2 separate regions of the Homo sapiens genome follow, and region 1 is linked to region 2. The links are contacts of gene promoters, found by promoter capture Hi-C in human tissues and cell types (Jung and others, 2019). All regions are on one chromosome and are shown on one strand. Each heading gives the region's core, a stretch centred on a gene start or on the middle of the fragment in contact. The rest is flanking DNA. Distances are from core to core; before and after follow the strand shown.

The links. The method cuts DNA at HindIII sites, captures the fragments that hold promoters and counts their contacts. A contact is called where the count stands out against the background at its distance.
Region 1: a contact is called between a fragment that was not itself captured here and the fragment with the promoter of PRAME in region 2, in 2 of the 25 tissues and cell types used here (H1 embryonic stem cells and dorsolateral prefrontal cortex).

The regions. Positions count from the first base shown.
Region 1 is chr22:22,660,506-22,667,277 of GRCh38, forward strand. It overlaps IGL, the pseudogene IGLV3-29 and the pseudogene IGLV2-28. Among named protein-coding and RNA genes, the nearest start is that of GGTLC2, 19 kb to the left of the region's middle. RefSeq lists a silencer at 6,360-6,539. The HindIII fragment of the contact is 6,688 bases long and covers 1,505-6,772 here.
Region 2 is chr22:22,556,651-22,562,684 of GRCh38, forward strand. PRAME (PRAME nuclear receptor transcriptional regulator) reads right to left here and starts at 2,615. Exons shown (of 6, transcript NM_206956.3): 1 at 2,321-2,615; 2 at 895-930; 3 at 162-259. The coding sequence starts at 182. LL22NC03-63E9.3 (a long non-coding RNA gene) reads left to right here and starts at 2,693. Exons shown (of 3, transcript NR_027426.2): 1 at 2,693-2,757. It also overlaps IGL. RefSeq lists an enhancer at 2,532-2,826. The HindIII fragment of the contact is 17,569 bases long and covers 1-6,034 here.

The DNA.
Region 1 (6,772 bases), core at 3,599-6,098, 110 kb after region 2:
AGGGAGAAATTTTATTCAAGTTCTGCAGCTCAGGAGCTGTGCTCAAGAGCAAGACCCAGAACTTCTCAAAGCCTGGTTTTGGCACCTGTAGAATGGAGCCCAAAAACGCAGACAGACTTACCTCGGAGCTCTATAGGGCCAGGACAGCCCAGGAGTAAAGCCAGTTTGAGACACAATTTGGGGTGAAGATGTCGGCCCAGAATAGAACCAGGAGAGGAAGAAGAAACCCGTGTGCTGAGAGTGGGTCTGCTGGGACCACTCCTCTCCTTCCTGGGCCCTTTGGGGCTGAGCCCTTCTCTAAAAACCACAGAGCTACTCCAGCAGCAGCCCCTGACTCTGCTGATTTGCATCATGGCCGCTTTATCCAGCAAGGGGATAAGAGAGGCCTGGGAGGAACCTGCTCAGCCTGGGTCTTGGGAAGCAGCATCGGGGGTGCCTCAGCCATGGCCTGGACCCCTTTCCTCCTCGGCCTCCTCCCTCACTGCACAGGTGCTGCCCCCAGGGTCTCACTCACTTGCCCAGCCCCAGGCCTCTGGGTCCAGCCTGGCCCTAACACTGAGCTCAGTAGGGCCCTACCTGTGGTGGGCAGGATGCTCATGAACCTGCCGCAGGGCAGGGGGCTGGTGGGGCAGAAATCCCCCCACACTGTGCTCCTGTTCTCTTGGTGCCCTAAGGGCACTTTTATTCCTGGGGCTCAGGTCAGTTCAGGCAAGTGGCAAGATATTCTTTGGTTAATCCCCAGAGTTTCAGGCCTTTTCGCTCCTCTTTTCTCTCCTTGCAGGCTCTGTGGCCTCATATGTGCTGACACAGCCACCCTCAGTGTCAGTGGCCCCAGGACAGACACCCAGGATCACCTGTAGGGGAAATAATATTGGAATTAAACCTGCTTAATGGTACCAGCAGAAACCAGGCCAGGCCCTTGTGCAGGTCATCTATGGGGATAGCAGATGGCCTTCAGGGATCTCTAAGTGATTCTCCAGCTCCAACTCGGGGAACATGGTCACCCTGACCATCAGTGGAGCCCAGGCTGGGGACGAGGCTTTCCTCTCAGGTGTGGGGCAGTGGCACTGCACACAGTGACAGAGGCAGACAAGGAAGTAAGACACAGACCCCTTCCCCATCTGTGCTGCTGTCGTCCTCCAGCCCGGCAACACTGTGGACAAAGCCATGAGCATGCATGACCCAGTTCACCTGGATCTGAGACCCCCAGTCTTTACTTCCTTCAGCCCTCCAGGCAGGCTGTGCAGAGGGGGCATCCAGAATGGATTTAGGGCTGAGGTGACCAGGATGTATTGGGGTTTTGTGGACTCCACTGTGATTCAGGGAAATTAGATCTTCCAAGCAGACCAAGGTCAATATCCTCAGTTATCTCTGGATTTCCATAGGTGGTGATAGGCCAGTCCTTGGCCGAAATGTCCTGAATCAGTCCCCAGAACTGCCCAGCTGAGGCTCCTGTCATTCTCTACAGAAAAACTAGTGGAGTGGACACTGTGGGATCCTCCCAGATCCCCTCTTATGAGCTCACCCACACAGCACTCCTGGGAGCTTCTGGCAGCTCAGAGCTGTTCGGTGCAGAAATCTGCCTCCCCCAGGTTTATGTCTCTTCTCAGGGAGGTTTGGTTTCATGACTGCCTGTGGCCAAGGTCTCAAGACTCTTCCTCAGTATAACAGGACCTGAAAATCCTCCAAGATCCATAGCTCCTTGTAGGGCTGACTGAAGCCTCAATATGTGTCAGGGCCTCCTTCTGCCTGGTGTTGCCTCCATCACTTTCTTAATCATCTGTGTATGATATTCTCCATCTCAGAGTCTGTTTCCAGGGAACCCAAACTAAGATCACCAGCCATCCCCAACACGGGCCATGAGGGAGCTGAAGAGGCCACTGTACACTAGAAAGCATCAGTTTACTCTTAAATTACCACTGCGAGTCTGCAAATGCCCAGCGAGACCTGAGTGGTTTTTTTTTTCATTTGTGTGAAATGAAAAGGGAGACTGACATGCCAGATGCTCTGGGTTCTGAGGGAGAGTTGGAGTCAGATCCTCCTGCAGGAATCCAGGGGCAGCAGGAGCAGCCTCGCCCCATGCAGGGACCACAGATGCACCCAGAGGGTGAGCTGCAGGATGGACACTGCCCACCTCCAATCTGTATATCCTGTGCAAAAAAATCATTGTTTTCACCCCTTCTTCAGCCTATCAAAGTTGTCACTTAAAAAGCCACTACATCTCATCCTGTGAACAGGAAACCCATCCACATCTCCATCAGCCACATAATCTCCACATAAAGATTCTTCAAAAAATAGTAATAATAGCTGTGAAAAAGTATCTAAAATATTGCATGACAATCATACTTAGATTACATATGAAAATGGCACTATTTTTGATATGCTAGGTAAATAAAATATATTATTTGAAGTCATTTACCTTCTTCTCTTTATATGTCTAATGTGGTGACTAGACTAGCCTAGTGGGATTCCCATTAGGCTCATCATACTGTGATTGAACAGTGCTGGTCTGCACCTCTTCAGGTTAACAGGGGCTGTGGAGTGACCTGGTGCAGGAAATATCATCTCCATCCATAGGATATCAGTGTGAACCCAGGGAGAGGCACTGGTGCAAGAGAGATGAGAACAGGGGTGTGGAGTAGGGGACTGAGCCTTCACTTTGAGCCGAAGAAGTTTCCTTTCCTATCCTCAATCCTGAACAAGAGGGATTTCTGGACTTCTTTTTGTTTTCAAGTTTGTGCCCCTTCAGATTTGGGGCTGTCTGGAATCCTGCCAGGGGACACCGAGAAAAAATAGGAGTCTCACACTGACTGTTGTATTTCATCTGCTGGGGCCATCCCAAACCACTGCGTACAATTTCCTTTCCTGGTGCTCAAATAGCTGCTCCACGCACTTGTTGTGGTTTCAGAGATGAATCTGGGTGGGAAGACAGGACAGTGTATGTTATAATATTTAAATGGAACCCAAATCCATTAATATTTATTTTAATATGGAACATTAAAAGAGTTTTGTAATAGGCAATGGGAAAAGGTAAAAAAGATAAAAGCTTTTTGAGAAAAAAAACAAAAACAAACTTATAGAATGTCTATGTGTCTTCAGTGTTGCAGGGTTGAGAGAGATCAGCTTTATGGTGCCCCATGGATGTGCTGAGATGGGGAAAATCAAGAAAGAAGGAAGTATGTACCACTGTGACTCAACAAATAAATCAAAGTAAAATGGACTTAAATCTTTCAATAAGTCATTCACAATAAATATCACTCTGGTGCACACAGAAATGCCTGTTAGCAAACTTTCCCTTCCCCCTGGCCATGTCTCCATGGATCACCTGTGTGCAGAGTGGCTCCGGTCAGTGCTCTGTGTTCCCTCCACAGGGCTCCCCACAACATGTGCCCTGTGTGGATGTGGGTGCATCGCCTGGGGTGGCTGATGTGCTCCAGGGATTCGATGCTGCAGATGCCTCAGCACCAAGGGTGGGGGTGGGAATGGGACAAGGCTGCAGCTGGGGAGACCAAGGATCAACCACACACAGCAGGGGTTTCCACGGGGTGAGCAGCCTCATTTCCTGACAGTAGAGCGAGCCTAAAGGTAGGTGCCAGGCAGTGGTATCTGTGGGGTGGCCCAGGCCTGGAGGGTCACAGAGACACAGGCACCACACAGCAGAGACACTGAGGGCCAGGAGCTCACTCAGGTGAGGGACTTCAGCAGATCTTTCTCTCCTGGTACAAAGAGATCAAGTTCCTACCATCAGAATAGACAAACAAGGACTTTAATCTCCTCAGCTGAGCCCCACTGTCCAGGGAAGAAGTCTCTGAGCCCAGGCCCAGGTGAGAGTGGGATGAGGAGAGGAGCCAGGACACAGATTTTCATGGATGCCCCGCCCTCCTCTGAGGCAGAGCGGATAAGACAGGGCTGGGGGCATACCCAGTGCTTGAGTCTCAGGAGGCAGCGCTCTCGGGACGTCTCCACCATGGCCTGGGCTCTGCTCCTCCTCACCCTCCTCACTCAGGGCACAGGTGATGCCTCCAGGAAAGGGGCCTCAGGGACCTCTGGGCTGATTCTTAGTCTCCTGCTCCTCAGGCTCACCTGGGCCCAGCACTGACTCACTAGAGTGTGTTTTTTCCTTTTTCCGGGCTCTCGGGCTCAGTCTGCCCTGACTCAGCCTCACTCAGTACCCGGGTCTCCTGGACAGTCGGTCACCATCTCCTGCACTGGAACCAGCAGTGACGTTGGGCATTATAACTATGTCTCCTGGTGCCAGCAGCACCCAGGCACATGATTTATGAAGTCAGTTATAGGCTCTCTGGAGTCTCTGATCACTTCTCTGGCTCCCAGCTCTGGCAACATGGCCTCCATGACCATCTCTGGGCTCCAGGCTGAGGACGAGGCTGATTATTACTGCAGTTCATATACAAGCAGCAACATTTTCCACAGTGGACATAAGATTGATTCTCAGGCTCCAAGTCTGGCCAGTGAGCTTCTTTGAGACTCCCTGGGATCCCAGCAGTGACACTGATCACTATTGCTGTCCCACACATCCCAAGTGATGAGGAAGTAAGACCAAAACCCTCCTGAGATTCCTGACTTGTGTCCTGACACCAGGGCTGTTGGGATTCCTGTCTTTCCTTCAAGATTGTTCAAATAAGCAGTGACAGTCACTTCCATGTGAGATATGAGAAGAAGAATAATTCCATATGAACCAAATCCACGAAGCCTACACTGAAGCCTGCCAAGTTCTCTGCAGTCCAGCGCGATGAAGGGAGCATTTTCGTGGGAACTTTTGGGAATATGAGGGGAGCCAGGCTCAGCTATGGGTTCCAGAGACAAAGCTCCTGGATGTTTCTCCCCGGCCTTGGTCCATCACCTGCTACCTCTCCTCACTCTTTCCACAGACACTGCCCCAGGCTAAGCCCCCACAGGACCCTAAGCCTATTCCTGACCCTGAGCTCAGCCCAGGTGATGCTTCAGGAGATGGGATCCTGAGAATGAGCCCCAACATCTCTTTAACCTAAGGTGTGGGGTCATGAGACACCTGTTAGCCATAAGACACCTGTCCCCCACCTGCTCAGGAGACAGTGGAGCAGGCAACAGTGCAGAGAGAACCAGCAGGAGCCAGGCCAGGCCCTGCATCCAAAGCAGGCCCCAGTCCCCACAGATTCTCCAGCTCTAGCCTGTGGTACAGCCCCCACTTTCTGCAGGCTGAAATGGGCTTCTCAGGATGGGCAGGCCATGATGGGGGATGGCAGTGTGTCCACAGGACACAGCCCTGCTGCCTGCCTGACCCTCATGCCCCCTCCTTCCCCACCCTGGTTAATCTCCACCAGAAAGGGCCCAGGTTCAGAACTCAGGACACCTGGATCAGCTCCTGGACTTGCCCCCACTGCTCTCTGTTCTCCTGAGCCACTTAGTCTCTTTTGGCCTCAGTGTTACCTGCTGTGAAGTGAGGAGGCTTATACTGAACTGAGGAAGCTCTTTTCTTCATTCAAAATTAAAAGACAGAAAAACAATGAAAGTCATGTAAATTAAAGCCTGCTGAGGGGATGTCATTTAATGGGCTTCAGTGGGTTTCAGACGTGGAACTTCTTGTCTTTTCTCTGCAGGGATTCCAAGACAGGGGCTCAAAAGAGCTTGCTTTCTGTATGGTGGGAACAGCGGTCCCTAGCTGAGAATAAGCAGGAGATTCCCAGCTTCATCAGGAAGGCAGACTAGGCTAGTGTAGAAATCCTCTCCGTACAAACTCTGAGAGGTGTTGAATAAAATAAAGATAAACATAATTTCATGTTTTCATGGTGCCGATGATGGTGATGTTAGCTCACAACTAAGCTGCAGTGCCTGGAACATCAGGAAATCACAGTGAATCACAGCTGCTCTTATTGGGTGGGAGGTGCACCAGTTTGATGCCTAAGTACATAGAAAGCCTGGGTCCCTGTAGGATGGCACATGCATCTCTCTGGACTTTGAAAGCTTTGCAGAAGAGCTTCAGTTGACTCACTCTAATTAGTCCGGACTGAACAAAACCACTAGAGGAGGGCATTTCAACCCTGAGACACTTCTATAGCCCCAACTTCCTACCCTGCGTGTGCGAACTCTCTGTGCTGGGCTGGGCAGGGCAGATTGGGTCACCCTGCACAGAATGGGGCTGGACTGTCTGGTCCTCAACTTCTGAGGTGACAGGTGCTGTGGAGGCACGTGGAAGAAAAAAGCTCCTGGGCTGAGTCTCCTCCACCAGCTGGGGGCAGCAGAGCTGCAGCCAGGAGCAGTCAGGATTAAGGCTGGGGCTGCCCAGCTGGGGCAAAGAGAAGGCCAGCCTGGCGTTCAACAGGTGTCCAAGAATCAGTCTTCAGACTGAAAGTGAGTGCAGTTCATCCTATCCCCTCAGGCTGCAGTGACCATTCTCTGAGGGTCAGACTCATACAGTGTCACCCCAGGACACTGACAGAAGCCCGGCACAGTGAAGGCCTCACCTGGGAAATGCAGCTGGAGGAGGCTGGGACCAGGTGTCAACTGGGGCAGCTTACTCAGGAAGGGGATTTCTTTGGAGACATCCCAAGGTTGAGGTGCTCTAGGAGGGGGCACAGCGTGAGGTGACGGGGCTCCCAGGGCCCGGGTTCTTCACCCAGGATGGCTGTCTGAGCCTCCTGCCACTCTCAGGGCCTTGTCCCTCTCAGTCCAGCAGCAACCTGGGGAGCTGAGCCCTCTGTCCTGGGCACTTCCAGATACACCATACCTCACTTCCTTCTGCCTCACCTTCCAGCTCCAGGCGGACTCTGACTCA
Region 2 (6,034 bases), core at 1,365-3,864:
ATGCTCTTTTGTGGAAATGACCAGAAACAATAAAAGCGGCTCCTGCCTCTTCGTCTACTGTGAGGGACCTCAGGATGCAGCTCCCATCTGGCTCGAGTGACAAGGACAGAGGGGAACAGGGCTTCTCTGAGCACCTCAGACAGCTCAGGGGACCTTCTTACCCACAAACGCCTTCGTTCCATTTTGAAGCGACTTAGGCTGGCCTCAGGACCTCCAACGCTTGGATTTCTAGGTCTCAGTCACTTGTTGCCACGCACGTCTGAGAGTAATAATCAAAATGCTCCAAAAAGAAGAATACATGTATAATATTTACGAAGCAACGGCCTCCTGTGAAAACCTCCGCAAATACTGCTGAGGAAACTGACAACTGGCGACTCAATCCCGCCCTTTCAGTGCAAATCTCTGGCTCCAAACCTGAGCACCAGTGTTTCCTGGGCTGAACCAGGGGGCAGGAGGAACAACAGACCATGTGGTTGGTCACAAGTGACCCCTGTGGTCAAGGACCCTGACTACGGTCTTGCAGCGACATTTCTGCCTCTGCTCCCGCCTTCCTAGGACGCCTACGCCACTGCCTGGGCCGTCCCCAACCCCCAGCACCTTCAGAGGGGCCGAGTCCCAGAGCATCCACCGCATTACAAATGCGCACCCACCCTGGAGAGCTCCAACCACGAGCACCGCCGCCTCGGTTCAAGGCATCCTTACAGCCACAACTCCTCAACTGGGGCCAATTTTCCGGGGCAGGCGGCCCGGGGTGACCCAAGTGGCGCACATTATTTTCTTTGGTCTTCAACCCATTTCCAGAGAGAAAACAGGGACCCGGGACAGGGGTGGTGCTGGGGGCACAAGCCCAAGGTCACCCTGCGGGGAAGCGGAGGAATCAGGGCTCGAACTTACGTTTTTCCTCAGAGAGTTCACCACACCGCGAAGTTGCTGGAAGGAAAGAACGAGACAATGGCTCAGCTAAGCGCCCTAGCCGCTGCGTGGGGCGGGGGGGGCGGCGGTGGGGACCGGGGGGCTGGGCAGCCTGGTCTGACCAATCCCCGTTTCTCAGTCCTTCCAGGGCAAAATCTCACGAGATCCAGTGAGGTCGCCCAGAGAGTCGAGAGGGGCTTGTTTTCAAAGACTGGGAGGAGGAGGGGCAGTGGGGGAGGGGCAGTGGGGGGAGGAGCAGAGGAGAAGGGAGCAGGAGGAGGGGAAAAGGGGAGAGGAAGTTGGAGAGCAGAGGAGGCTGGGGGTGGGGAGGAGATGGGGGTGGGGAAGGAGGGGAGATGGGGGTGGGGAAGGGGGGGCGGGAGGAGGGTTAGGAATGGGGGAAGGAAGACAGGGTGGGGGAGGGGTGGGCATGGGGGAAGGAAGACAGGGTGGGGGAGGGGTGGGCATGGGGAAAGGGAGACAGGGTGGGGGAGGGGTGGGCATGGGGGAAGGGAGACAGGGTGGGGGAGGGGTGGGCATGCGGGAAGGGAGACAGGGTGGGGAACCGAGAAGAAAGACAGTGGGGGGGGATGGAGGAAGGAACACAGGGTGGGGTGGGGGGTCGGGATGGGGGAAGGGAAACAAAGAGTGGTGGAGGCGTGGGGATTAGGAACGGAGACAGAGGGTGGGGGAGGGGTGGGGTGGGGGAAGGGAGACAGGGTGGGGGAGGGGTGAGGATGGCGGAAGGTAGACAAGGCGGGGGAGGGGTGGGGATGGGGGAAGGGAGACAGAAGGGGGGGAGGGGTGGGGATGGGGGAAGGGAGACAGAAGGCGGGCCAGGGCGGGAATGGGGGAAGGGAAACAGGGTGGGGGTGGGGATGAGAGAAGACAGAGGTTGGGGGAGGGGTGGGGATGTGTAAGAAAAACAAAGGGTTGGGGAGGGGGAGGGAAAAGAGGCAGAGAGTGGGGGAGGGGGTGGGGATGTGGAAAGAAAGTCAGAAGGTGGGGGGTGAGGGGTGGGGATGGGTGAATACGTGATGGCTGCGGCCTTTCCCACCAGACAGTAGGGTGGGGGCAGGGTGGAAAAAGGGGGTGCGGTGGGCGAATGGAGAGGCAGTGGGGAGGCGGGGGGCTGACTGGGAGTGTGGGACGGGGTGTTCTGGGATCACGGAGACGTCCAAGTCTGGACTCTGTCCTGGGTCTGTGCTTCTGGCGACCTCCCTTTTCTTCAGTGGGATGCGGGGTGCAGGGGCCGGTTCCAGGGTCCCCTGAGCTCAAGTTCTCGCCCCACCCCGCCCCGCAAGTCTAGAAAAGATGCCCCTGGCCTTGGCTGGGTAATCTCTGGATTTACCTACTTCTGTAACCCCCCGGGCTGAAGAGACCACCCCCCGGGATTCAATTAACTTACTCTCTGGAGCGCGCGTTCCTCCCTGCTCCCGGGAGTCGGTTTCCCAGAACTTTCTGAGGCCCGCGCATGCTCCCCTCGACTCCCCGTGTTTCCACTCTCCACAGAAATCCACGCATTCACGCCCCTCCCCTCCCCCGAGCCTGCAGAGGACTCCGCCCTGCTTTCCCTACATTCAGGGCTGCTCCTTTTGTCGCCAATACAGACCTGTTGACAGGTCACGCCTGGGAAGCGGGTGGGGTGTCCCGGAGCGGTGCTGAGGCGCTGCAGGCCCGGCTTCTGGCTGCGGGGGAGCTGTACCCTGAAGCCTCGCCGGAACTCGCGTCTGGGGCCAGCAGGGGGCACTAGAGTCAACAGGGACTGTATGCAAAACCCACTTCCTCCCAGGCCCTCTAGGGGGATGGTCAGGCTTCTGCAGAGATGGGGAGGATCCTTTCCTGGTAAGGGGAGAGGGACGGGCTAGGAGCCAAGCGGAAGGACCCCGTGTTCAAGGCCCTTCAAGGGACGGGACAGGCGAGGAATCTCTTTGAGTCTTTTGAATTGTTTTATCAGTCAGGCCTGGGAAGTACTCCGCCTCCACAAACTCTGTTTTCCTGAAAGGGGTCGGGGGGGGGGACCCCAACATCTCCTGCCACAGGCTATGATGGGCATGGTGGCTAAGAGCAACAGGCCGCGTGGTGAGGCTGGCTTTTTGTGGCTCTGCCCTGCCATTCCCCGAGGCATCCCCATGCCAGTGAACAGAGCTGCGGGTTCCCAGCTGCACAGATGAATGCACGAACAAAACATAGGTCCATGCAAAGGAAGTCATTGCATTGATCCAGATTCGACCTGGGATTGTCGCATAAAACAGGGCTGATAAAAACCGTTGTGTTTTCACCTTCGAAACAGAGACTCAGCCTCCCCCTCTCTGCTTGAGGCATTCAGCAAAGGTTCGTCCTTGAGTGGCTGTGGATGCTCAAGGACTTACGATTTCTGACTTTATAAAGTTTAGGGTGAAAACAAAAAACAAAATAAGAAGACCATTGTTTTAAAGTGGCCGTTGTAGCTAATTATCTCAAGAAAGCAAACAGGCTGGTACTGAAAGTTACACAGGCGGGCGGCTCCCTGGGAGGGTTGCCCAGCTCTCCTTTTCTGAGACCTGAGCAGGGAGCAGCCAGAGGAGCTTGAAGGGATGGTGTTCAGGGCATGGGAACAGGCTGCACACATCTTCACGGAGTACGGTGCTTGTCCAGTTTGAGAAGGGAAAGAAACTGGGGCAGAGGGCTGATGAGAAGGCAGCAGATGGATAGTGCGGGATTGAAAAGGGGATCCATTTGAAGACTGGCCACCATTATTTATTTTCATCATCTGATTGCTGTTGCTCCATTGAGATCGATGCGTGGAGAACAAGTTGGGGAGTGGAACAAATGGCAGGGAGGGGAGAGAAGTGAGTGAACATGACCCTGGTCCAGCCTCATAGGACAGAGCGTGGTCATGAAGTCCACAGAGGAGGACAGGTAGGGAGGAATCATGGCATGGCCAGGTTGTAGGGCAAGAGGCAGAGAGGAGAGAGGATTGTGGAGGATGCCTGCGGAGTGCCGACTGTCAGTCGAGGCTGGTCCTTTATTTATTTATTTTTTTTTTTGAGACGGAGTCTCGCTCTTGCCCAGGCTGGAGTGCAGTGGCGCGATCTCGGCTCACTGCAAGCTCCGCCTCCCGGGTTCATGCCATTCTCTCGCCTCAGCCTCCCAAGTAGCTGGGACTACAGGTGCCCGCTACCATGCCTGGCTAATTTTTTTGTTTTTAATAGAGACAGGGTTTCACCGTGTTAGCCAGGATGGTCTTGATCTCCTGACCTCATGATCCGCCCACCTCGGCCTCCCAAAGTGCTGGGATTGCAGGCATCAGCCACTGTGCCTGGCCAAGGCTGGTCCTTTCTTTTATGGCGATGGGTGTTTGAAAGTTGCACATACCAAAATAAACTCACTATTTGTTGACCCAAAGTAAAACCCTGAGGGTATGAAAGGGAAGGGCTCATGCTTACATGGCTGAGATAAAAGCTGTCTCAGGAAGCTGGGTGTGGTGGCTCACCCCTGTAATCCCAGCACTTTGGGAGGCCAAGGTTGGAGGATCCCCTGAGGCCAGGAATTGAAGACTAGCCTGAGTGATATAGCAAGACCCCATCTATATTTTTAAAAAGGGTTGGCTGTCTCGGGACTTTTCGAAATAGCCCTGCAAGACATTCCTGTTTTGGAATCACAACAATTTAGATAAGATGCTTTTGAAAGAACACCTGCCTAGGCACAGCGTCTCCACCAATGAACTGATGCCAACTGTGGTTTTGAGTCTTCATAACCGGTGAACTGTTTGCAAGCAGCTTATTTAAATCTCTTTTTTTGCCAATACAACCTTCCCTTTGCCCTCCCCTCTTGAGATGCATATATGGCTTGCCATAGCTGAGCATCTTAGGTTATAATGCTTTTTCTCTTTTTTAATTTTTTTTTGTAAATTTATATTTATTTTTATATTTATTTATTTTTTGAGACAGGGTCTTGCTTTGTCACCCAGGCTGGAGTGTAGTGCATAATCGTAGTTCACCACTGCCTCCAACTCTCGGGCTCAAGCAGTCCTCCCACCTCAGCCTCCTGAGTAGCTAAGACAACAGGCATGCACCACCATGCCCAGCTAATTTATGTATTTACTTTATTAAAAATTTTTTTTTTTTGGTAGAGAGAGTCTCACTGTGTTTCCCAGGCTGGGCTTGAACTCCAGGCCTCAAGTGTTGCTCCCAACTCGACTTCCCAAAGTGCTGGGATTACAGGCATGAGCCACCATGCCCAGCGTATAATTTTGTATTCTAATTCCTGAATAAATTCAACAAATTTGGAGGTGTTTTTTGTCTGATGGTTCCTTTTGGTCGACAACTGGAATGGGAGAGGAACAGTGTGAGGGCAAACATCAAGTGCTTTGCTGAGCTCCGGGTGCTTTTTTTGGATAAGACACAGAAAATACAATAAGATGTCTGTAATGTTTGATTTTTTTCCAGGTTTCTTGAGGTATAATTGACAAATAAAAATTGTATGGATTCAAGGTGTACAATTCATATACATTGATCCACATATACCTTGTTTGATGATTAATCAAATTAGTTAACACATCTTTCACCCCAGCAGTCAATGTGTGTGTGCTCTGTTAGCAAATTTCAATTAATAATATAGCATTATTAACTATAGTTACTATGCTGTATATTAGAGTCTCAGGATTTACCATCTTATAACTAAAATTTTGTAGCCTTTGACCAACATCTCTCATTCCTCCCACCCACAGCCCCTGGGAACTACCATTCTACTCTGCCTCTATGAGTTCCACTTTTTGTGTTTCTTTTTTCCCTTTCCTTTAATTTTTTTTGTATTTGTTATATTACCAAACCATGTCAAAAGAGTTCCACTTTTTAGATTCCACATATTATTAGCTCGTACAGTATTTGTCTTTCTGCATCTGGCTTATTTCACTTAACATAATTTCCTCCAGGTTCATTCGTATTGTTGCAAATGGCAAGATTCCCTTCTTTTTTATGACTGATGATGTCTGTCTGCAATATTTGAAAAAAAAATGCAGATCACGTGAATGATTGTCTAATGTAATTCTATTCATGTAAAATTGTGTATGACCATAACAGTCACTCATTCATTGCTTCGAGTTCTTTACAATCGGATGCCATATTCCTGGGGCTCTGCT